Linked DNA regions of Homo sapiens: region 2 is linked to region 1. The links are contacts of gene promoters, found by promoter capture Hi-C in human tissues and cell types (Jung and others, 2019). All regions are on one chromosome and are shown on one strand. The core of a region is centred on a gene start or on the middle of the fragment in contact, and the rest is flanking DNA. Distances in the headings are between cores, read along the strand shown.

What was found. The method cuts DNA at HindIII sites, captures the fragments that hold promoters and counts their contacts. A contact is called where the count stands out against the background at its distance.
Region 2: a contact is called between a fragment that was not itself captured here and the fragment with the promoter of KRT84 in region 1, in 2 of the 25 tissues and cell types used here (heart left ventricle and neural progenitor cells).

What each region holds. Positions count from the first base shown.
Region 1 is chr12:52,384,104-52,387,817 of GRCh38, reverse strand. KRT84 (keratin 84) reads left to right here and starts at 2,166. Exons shown (of 9, transcript NM_033045.4): 1 at 2,166-2,778. The coding sequence starts at 2,233. The HindIII fragment of the contact is 12,479 bases long and covers 1-3,714 here.
Region 2 is chr12:52,759,632-52,763,485 of GRCh38, reverse strand. It overlaps the pseudogene ARL2BPP2. Among named protein-coding and RNA genes, the nearest start is that of KRT76, 16 kb to the left of the region's middle. The HindIII fragment of the contact is 9,267 bases long and covers 1-3,854 here.

The DNA of each region.
Region 1 (3,714 bases), core at 917-3,416:
GCAAGTGGAACATATTTAGCAGGAACAATTAGGAGAACAGTTTTGGTCATAAAGTCATCCCTCTGTATCTGTGGCTCCCACCTTTGTGGATTCAACCAACTGCAGATTGAAACTCTTAAAAAAATTGCATCTGTGCTGAACAAGTACGGACTTTTTTCTTGTCAATAAAGTATAACAACTATTTACATAGCATTTACATTGTATTAGGTATTATAATCCAGTGATGATTTCAAGTATACAGAAGGATGTGTGTGGGTTACATGCAAATACTACACCATTGTATATCGGAGGCTCGACGAACATCCATGGATTTTGGTATCCACAAGGGGTCCTGGAACCAACTACCTGGGGATACCAAGGGACAACTGTATTAAGTTTGAGATGCCTATCTGATATCCAAATAGAGATGTTGGTTAAAATATATGTGTGGCGTTTAGGGGTAGGGAGGTCTGGGATAGAGTTGTGCCTTGGCAGTCATGAATGAACAGATGGTATTTAAAGTCCTGAGTCTGTATAATATCACCAAGGCAATGAGTCTAAAGAAGAGAATAGATACCCAAGGATTGAGCCAGGGACTCTGCAGTGTCTAGAGGTTGGGGATATGAGGAGGAACTGGCTTAGAAGACTGAAAAGAGTGTGGCAAGAAATCGAGAGAGTGTAGTGTCCGAAAATCAAAAGAAGAGCGTGTTTCAAGAGAAAGGGCATGGTCAGCTATGTGAAGAAAGTGAGAACTGAGGACAGACCATTGAATTTAACATGGAGGCCACTGGTGGTCTTGACGAGAAGTATGCACTTCTTATTGTTTTTCTGCTTCATTTCCCCCTTAGACATACAGCTGATAGCTGGAAAAAGAAAATACCGCACAAATGAGCTGGATGCTTCTGGTCAAAAGCATACATCCCCTTCCAAGTGGAATTGCAAGCATCCCAAAGAATCTCAAGCGTCCAGTCAAACATGAGTTCCCCTGGGCAAAGGATGCACTAGAATAGAAAAGGTAAACACCAGCCTGGCTCAGGGTCCTAAAAGAGCTGCAATATTGCTAACAATGATAATATTCAGCTGCTGAGAACTTTTCCTTTTCTATCCAGATGTATATTGCTTTGTGTCTCTCTATCCTAACCAAAGATTCATCAATAATTCAAGGAACCTAAATGGACAGGCCCATAAATCACACCTATGGTATATTTGGGGGCTAAAAATCATGTAGTTAGCTTTCTATACAGAAACTTTCCAATGCTTTGGCCTCAAATCATGCCACAAAGTGTTGACTGCTGGAAATCCTCAAGATAAATGTTCTGCTGGGCATGGTGGTGGATGCCTGTAGTCCCAGCTATCTGGGAGGCGGAGGCGGGAGGATCACTTGAGCCCAGGAGTTCAAGACCAGCCTGGGCAACTAGATCATGTCTCTAAAAAAAAAAAAAAAATTTAAGATAAATCTTCCCCTACTACCATGAAGATAGAGACTGTCTTTGTAATCTCTGTACCCTCAGCAGCAAGCACACTGCTGGATACATAGCAGGCACTCTAAAACTGTAGAATGAATGAATATCTCTGAGTGTCTCAAATCACAGATGTGTCTACACTAGCCCAAATGAGCTTTACTGTAGATTCAACTCTTGTATACTAAACAGCCATATTGGATAAAACATGGCAGAAGGTTTTTTGATGATTTAATTGATTTGCAGAAATGCAACAAACTGTATTTTCTCCATATCACTTCTTACTTGGAGATGTGCACACACTCCCACCTCTTTAGGGGGTTATATCTTCATGGATGCATCCCATGTGAGCCTCTTGCTGGAGCTGTCGCCATCCTAACTTTCTGGTGGTTAGCCACACTCACAGTGAAAAAACCTATTGCATTTATGACCAAAGCAAATTAATGTCCCCTTAATGGCAATTGTGGTAGACTTATAGGGAAAAAAAAGACTATAATGTTTATATGTTTATGTGTTTTTAATGTTTATTGGTTTGCTGTTACAGCCCTCATCCCAATGAGACTAGGTGTGTCTGAGTTAACTCATTGTCAAGGAGGTTATAGGCATGCAGAGTTTCTGCTAACTACCCAAGCTCATAAATGCCTGCAAATGGATTTTTTCATTTTTATGGGGCCAAGCCTCAGATCACCACACACATAAAAGGGGTGCAAGGGTTCCACTGGCCTCAGAGGGACTCCCAGCTCCAGCTCACCCATTCTACACTTGCTCTTTTGCTCCCAACCAGGAAGCCATCATGTCTTGCCGCTCCTACCGAGTCAGCTCTGGTCACCGGGTGGGCAACTTCAGCTCTTGTTCAGCAATGACACCACAGAACCTGAATCGCTTCCGGGCCAACTCTGTCTCCTGTTGGAGTGGGCCTGGATTCCGGGGCCTTGGCAGCTTTGGTAGTCGGAGTGTCATCACCTTTGGATCGTACTCACCCCGGATAGCAGCTGTAGGCTCTCGGCCCATCCACTGTGGAGTCCGCTTTGGTGCTGGCTGTGGGATGGGTTTTGGTGATGGGAGAGGTGTTGGTCTGGGGCCTAGGGCTGACAGCTGTGTTGGTCTGGGCTTTGGAGCTGGCAGTGGCATTGGCTATGGCTTTGGTGGCCCTGGCTTTGGTTACAGAGTTGGAGGGGTTGGAGTCCCAGCAGCCCCATCTATCACAGCTGTGACTGTGAACAAGAGCCTACTGACCCCCCTCAACCTGGAGATTGACCCCAATGCCCAGAGGGTGAAGAAGGATGAGAAGGAGCAAATCAAGACCCTCAACAACAAGTTTGCCTCCTTCATTGACAAGGTACCTATGATAGCTGAATCTCTGGGTCTAGGAATATTACAGCCAAAATGCGCTAGAGTGCTCTTTCCCTTAAAAAGAACTGGCCCGGTTCTGGGGACTTGACCTTGACCTCAGATCTTTCAAGTGCCTACCTCAGGCATTGTGGTATGCTTTATGGGTTGCTCTGCTGCAGAGCAAGGCCAAGCCAGAGGACGAGCTGCATGGTGGGATAGATTCCGACAGTGTTGATATCTTCTGGAGGACAGAGGAGCATCCAGCCAAACTCGAGGGCATCTCGACAAACTAAGATGTTGCATCTGGTCACTTAGAAATGTCTCTGAAACAGGCTGGAAACACTGGGACTTTAGCCAGGTGTTGGCTGGTATATGCTTAAGAGGTTTTATTCTTTGAGATCCTTTTGTTCCTTATGAAGTTTTCATAGTTTCTGAGGCTGAGTGGCCTCATCTATTCAGGCTTAGAAAAGTAGAGAATGGAGTTGAGTAATTAAAAAAAGAAGAAGAATTCATACCCCCACATGGGGTATCAAAATTCGGCCAAGTTGCCTAGATTCAGGGAAATTGCAGGGAATGACCACTGGTAGTCACTGGCTTCCAGGCAGATGAGTGGGAACAGTGATGTGGATAACCCAAAAGAACTGACATCCCACACACCATGTCTATGTGGAGATGGAATGGTTATGTCTGAGAATGAAGGATAACCTCTGTAAGTTTTGGGTTCTTCCTCTCTAAAATGAGGGGCTGGGGTAAAGGGTCTGTAAGTTCTCTTCCAGCTCTACACATAGCCAATGGAATATCTGCGATGTTGGATAGGACTTACAATCTGAGAATTCCTACCTCCCAGTACCATATCCCACCCCAAATGTAGTTTACTCTGCTCCCCATTCTCTGCCAGGGATGCCTGGCATCAGTTTTCAGATATAGGCAAACCAGAGCTTAA
Region 2 (3,854 bases), core at 945-3,444, 380 kb before region 1:
ATAGAACCAACCACAGTATTGAATTTGGCTTCAGAGGTGGAAGAGATGGGTAGTGCAAAGCTCTCTTCCTCTGGGGCTTCCGTCACTTCCGCTGCTGCATCCATCCCTGATCTAGGAGCTGGCAAGCAGCCTCCCATCAGCCTGAGACCCACAGAGTCTGTGCCTGTGCATCCCTCCCCTTCCCCGCACCCCGCCCCCCCGATTACTGAGCTGTAGGTGCCATGCCCTGCCACCTGTTACCCTCATGGCCAAGTCGTCTTTCTTAATAACTGCATAATATTCCATTATATAGATGTAGCACCTTTTTACATATATGTTTATTTCTACTTTTTCCACTGTAATAAATGTTGCTGCAATGAACACACAGTTCTCTGGACACTGGTCCTATTCATTCTTTAAGGTAACTTTTTAGAAGTTATTGGAATTGCAAGGCCACTTAAAATTTTTGATTTATATGGTCAGGCCGCTCTCCAGAAAGATTGTACCAATTCATGCTTTTGTAAGTAACGTATAAGACTTCCTATTTCTCCACAGTCTTCTGAACACTGTGTGGTATTCTTTTTAGTTTTTTTTTTTGACAGTTTTCTGTTTTATTTTCATTATCTGATTGCTAATGAGGTTGAGCATTACAAATATGTTTATTCGCTATTTAGCTTTCATTTTCTGTGAATTGTCTCTTCACTTATTCAGTCCATTTTCTCTTTGAGTGATCATTTTGTTTTTCTAAATAATCTGTACATACTCTTTGTAGATTAACAAAACTAGCCATTTGTTTGTAAAAGATATTATAAACAGTGTCTTATAAATGCAGATAAATATTTCATCTAACTGTTGCCATGGTATCATGACTGGATGAAAGAAAGACACATTTTATTGGCTACCTACTGTATGATCAGCCTAGTGGTAGGTCTGAGATCAAAGGACCTATCAACATTTTGAGCAGAAAAAGATAATGATTTCTTTTAATCCCAATTTTAGCAGAGGCTGTCCAGGGCACATTGCATTGTTTAGACTATGTCTGGATGGTCTATTTAGATCTGGATCCCCCTAAAGAGACAAAGGCAAAGCAGAACCTACTGGGGAAGGATGATATGAATGGAGAGGATTTTATACTAATATCATATGCTGAGTGTTGACAGGACTGGAGAAAATTCCCTAAAGGGGGCCCACTGACTGTCCTCTACAACCTGAGCTTTCAGTCTCCACCCTGTCTTGCTTTTCTTTGCCAGGGGCCCTGGTGTTGTCTAGTCCACCTTCTTCAGGGGAGCCTGATCCTTGTACCACCATAGCTCCTGGCAAGTCACCTAGAAGCCAGTCCTACATATATCCTAGTCCCATTCTGTGGTTCCACATTGGGAAGAAGCTGCTGCTCCTGTCTTCTTGCTTGCCTGAGGCAAGGACTCCAACAGCACCTTAGTCACTCAAGAATCCAGCAACCATTCACAATTGTGCCAGAATCAGTGCCCTGTTGGGGATGCTGAGAATAGTTGGGGTGGGGTGACAAAGAGAGAACCTAGTGTTGTGGGAAGTCAGGGACCCCAAATGGAGGGACTGACTGAAGCCATGGCAGAAGAACATAAATCGTGACTATTTCATGGACATTTATTAGTTCCCCAAATTAATACTTTTATAATTTCTTACGCCTGTCTTTACTGCAATCTCTGAGCATAAAGTTGTGAAGATTTCATGGACATTTATCACTTCCCTAATCAATACTCTTGTGATTTCCTATGCCTGTCTTTAATCTCTTAATACTGTCATCTTCGTAAACTGAGGATGTATGTTGTCTCAGGACCCTGTGATAATTGTGTTAACTGAACAAATTGTTCGTAAAGCATGTGTGTTTAAAGAATATGAAATCTGGGCCCCTTGCAAAAAGAACAGGATAACAGAGATGTTCAGGGAACAAGGGAGATAACCATTAAATCTGACTGCCCGAGAGCTGGGCGGAACAGAGCCATATTTCTCTTCTTACAAAAGCGAATAGGAGAAATATCGCTGAATTCTTTTTCTTAGCAAGAAACAGCCCTGAGAAAGAGAATGCGTTCCTAGGGGGAGGTCTCTAAAATGGCTGCTCTGGGAATGTCTGTCTTATACAGTTGTAGATAAGGGATGAAATAAGCCCTGGTCTCCTGTAGCGCTCCCAGGCCTATTAGGACGAGGAAATTCCTGCCTAGTAAATTTTAGTCAGGCTAGTTTTTTGCTTTCAAACCTTGTCTCCTGATAAGATGTTATCAATGACAATATGTGCCCGAAACTTCATTAGCAATTTTAATTTTGCCCTGGTTCTGTGATCTTGCTCTGCCCCCATTTGCCTTGTGATATTTTATTGCCTTGTGAAGCATGTGATCTCTGTGACCCACACCCTATTCGTATACTCCCTCCCCTTTGAAAATCACTAATAAAAACTTGCTGGTTTTGTGGCCTGGGGGGCATCATGGAACCTGCCAACATGTGATGTCTCCCCCAGACACCCAGCTTTAAAATTTATCTCTTTTGTACTCTTTCCCTTTATTTCTCAGACCAGCCTACACTTAGGGAAAATAGAAAAGAACCTACATTGAATTATGTGGGGTGTTTCCCCTGATAACCTAGCTTAGCAGGAGGGACAGCAGAGGGGCTTACAGGATTGCAGGGAAGTGGGGCCAAGTTGTGGGAAGAGGCCACCTCCAAAATTATGTCTGTGGTAGTAGATGAGATGACAGAGTGAGGCAAGGCTGGGAGAGAAACAGAAGCAGGATCAGCCCCCTAGGTGGGGTCTGTAGTGGATGGGTGGTGGGCTCTCACCCTTTTGAGAACCTAGCACTCACTTCTCCAGCTGCTGTGGCTCCTGATTGCTCTTAGAAGAGTGCCTTTCCAGGAACACCTTGCCCTAGGCTATGATCTCTCCCCATTGGCAGGTCTAGTGCTTGGTGGGATTTGCTGAGACCTTTGTTGCAGCCAACCCAACTACATAGGAGTTTAACTTTTCCCCAATCCCCAATCCTGCTTCATTCACTTCCTTACATATTGATCCTCTCCAATAAACTTCCTGTACACAAATCTTCATCTGAGTCTGTTTTTGGGAATTTGAACTGAGACAGGGCCAGAGGGAGCTGGTCAGTTGGCTGGTTGACTGGGATTTGGATGGGGAGGTTACCTTTTTTTTTGGTAAAAGCTGGTGCCCTGGGAGCATGGAGAAGACCCTGGGATCCTTGAAGACCCTGGAGGTGAAGGCCCAGGGATGGCAGGCAGCCCACCACACATATAGAACTCATGAGAACATTCTGCAGGGATTCTGGAGGGGGTGGGCTTCTCTGGCATGCTGCCATTTGATCAATGGTAAATGCTTGCTTGGGACATTCAGGAAAGCCAAGCTAGGGCTGGAGTAGGGATTGCTGCTACTTAGGCCAGGCTTCCCAGGCCCCCTCCTGCCTTCTCTGTCTATTCCAGATGTTCTTTCTCCCACTGGCTGAATTTCTGAGGTCCAACTCTGGTGTCCCAGTTCACTGAAGTAATGGCTCTTGCTAACTCATCCCTGGCTGACAGAGACAAACTCCTAACTGTCCTCCTTGCCTCCAGGGGGCTCCGGTTGACCTCTTCCAATTCACCTTTGCTGGCAACAGGGGACAGCAATTAACAAAATGTATGTATTAGAGCTCCTTTCTCACTCCCACTGTTTAGACTAATTATTTGGTTGTTTCAAGCCAGGCGTTTTGCCTTATTAAAGCTGGGGTTACTCACAGTCAAGGCCAAATAGTCCACATTTGAATTCCCATAAATTCATTTCATGCATGTTTTGCCCTGCAAAACTGGTAATTAAGATGCAGGGTCTTAGCTGGCCAACAATAATGCTTTGTAATAGAAGTACAGAG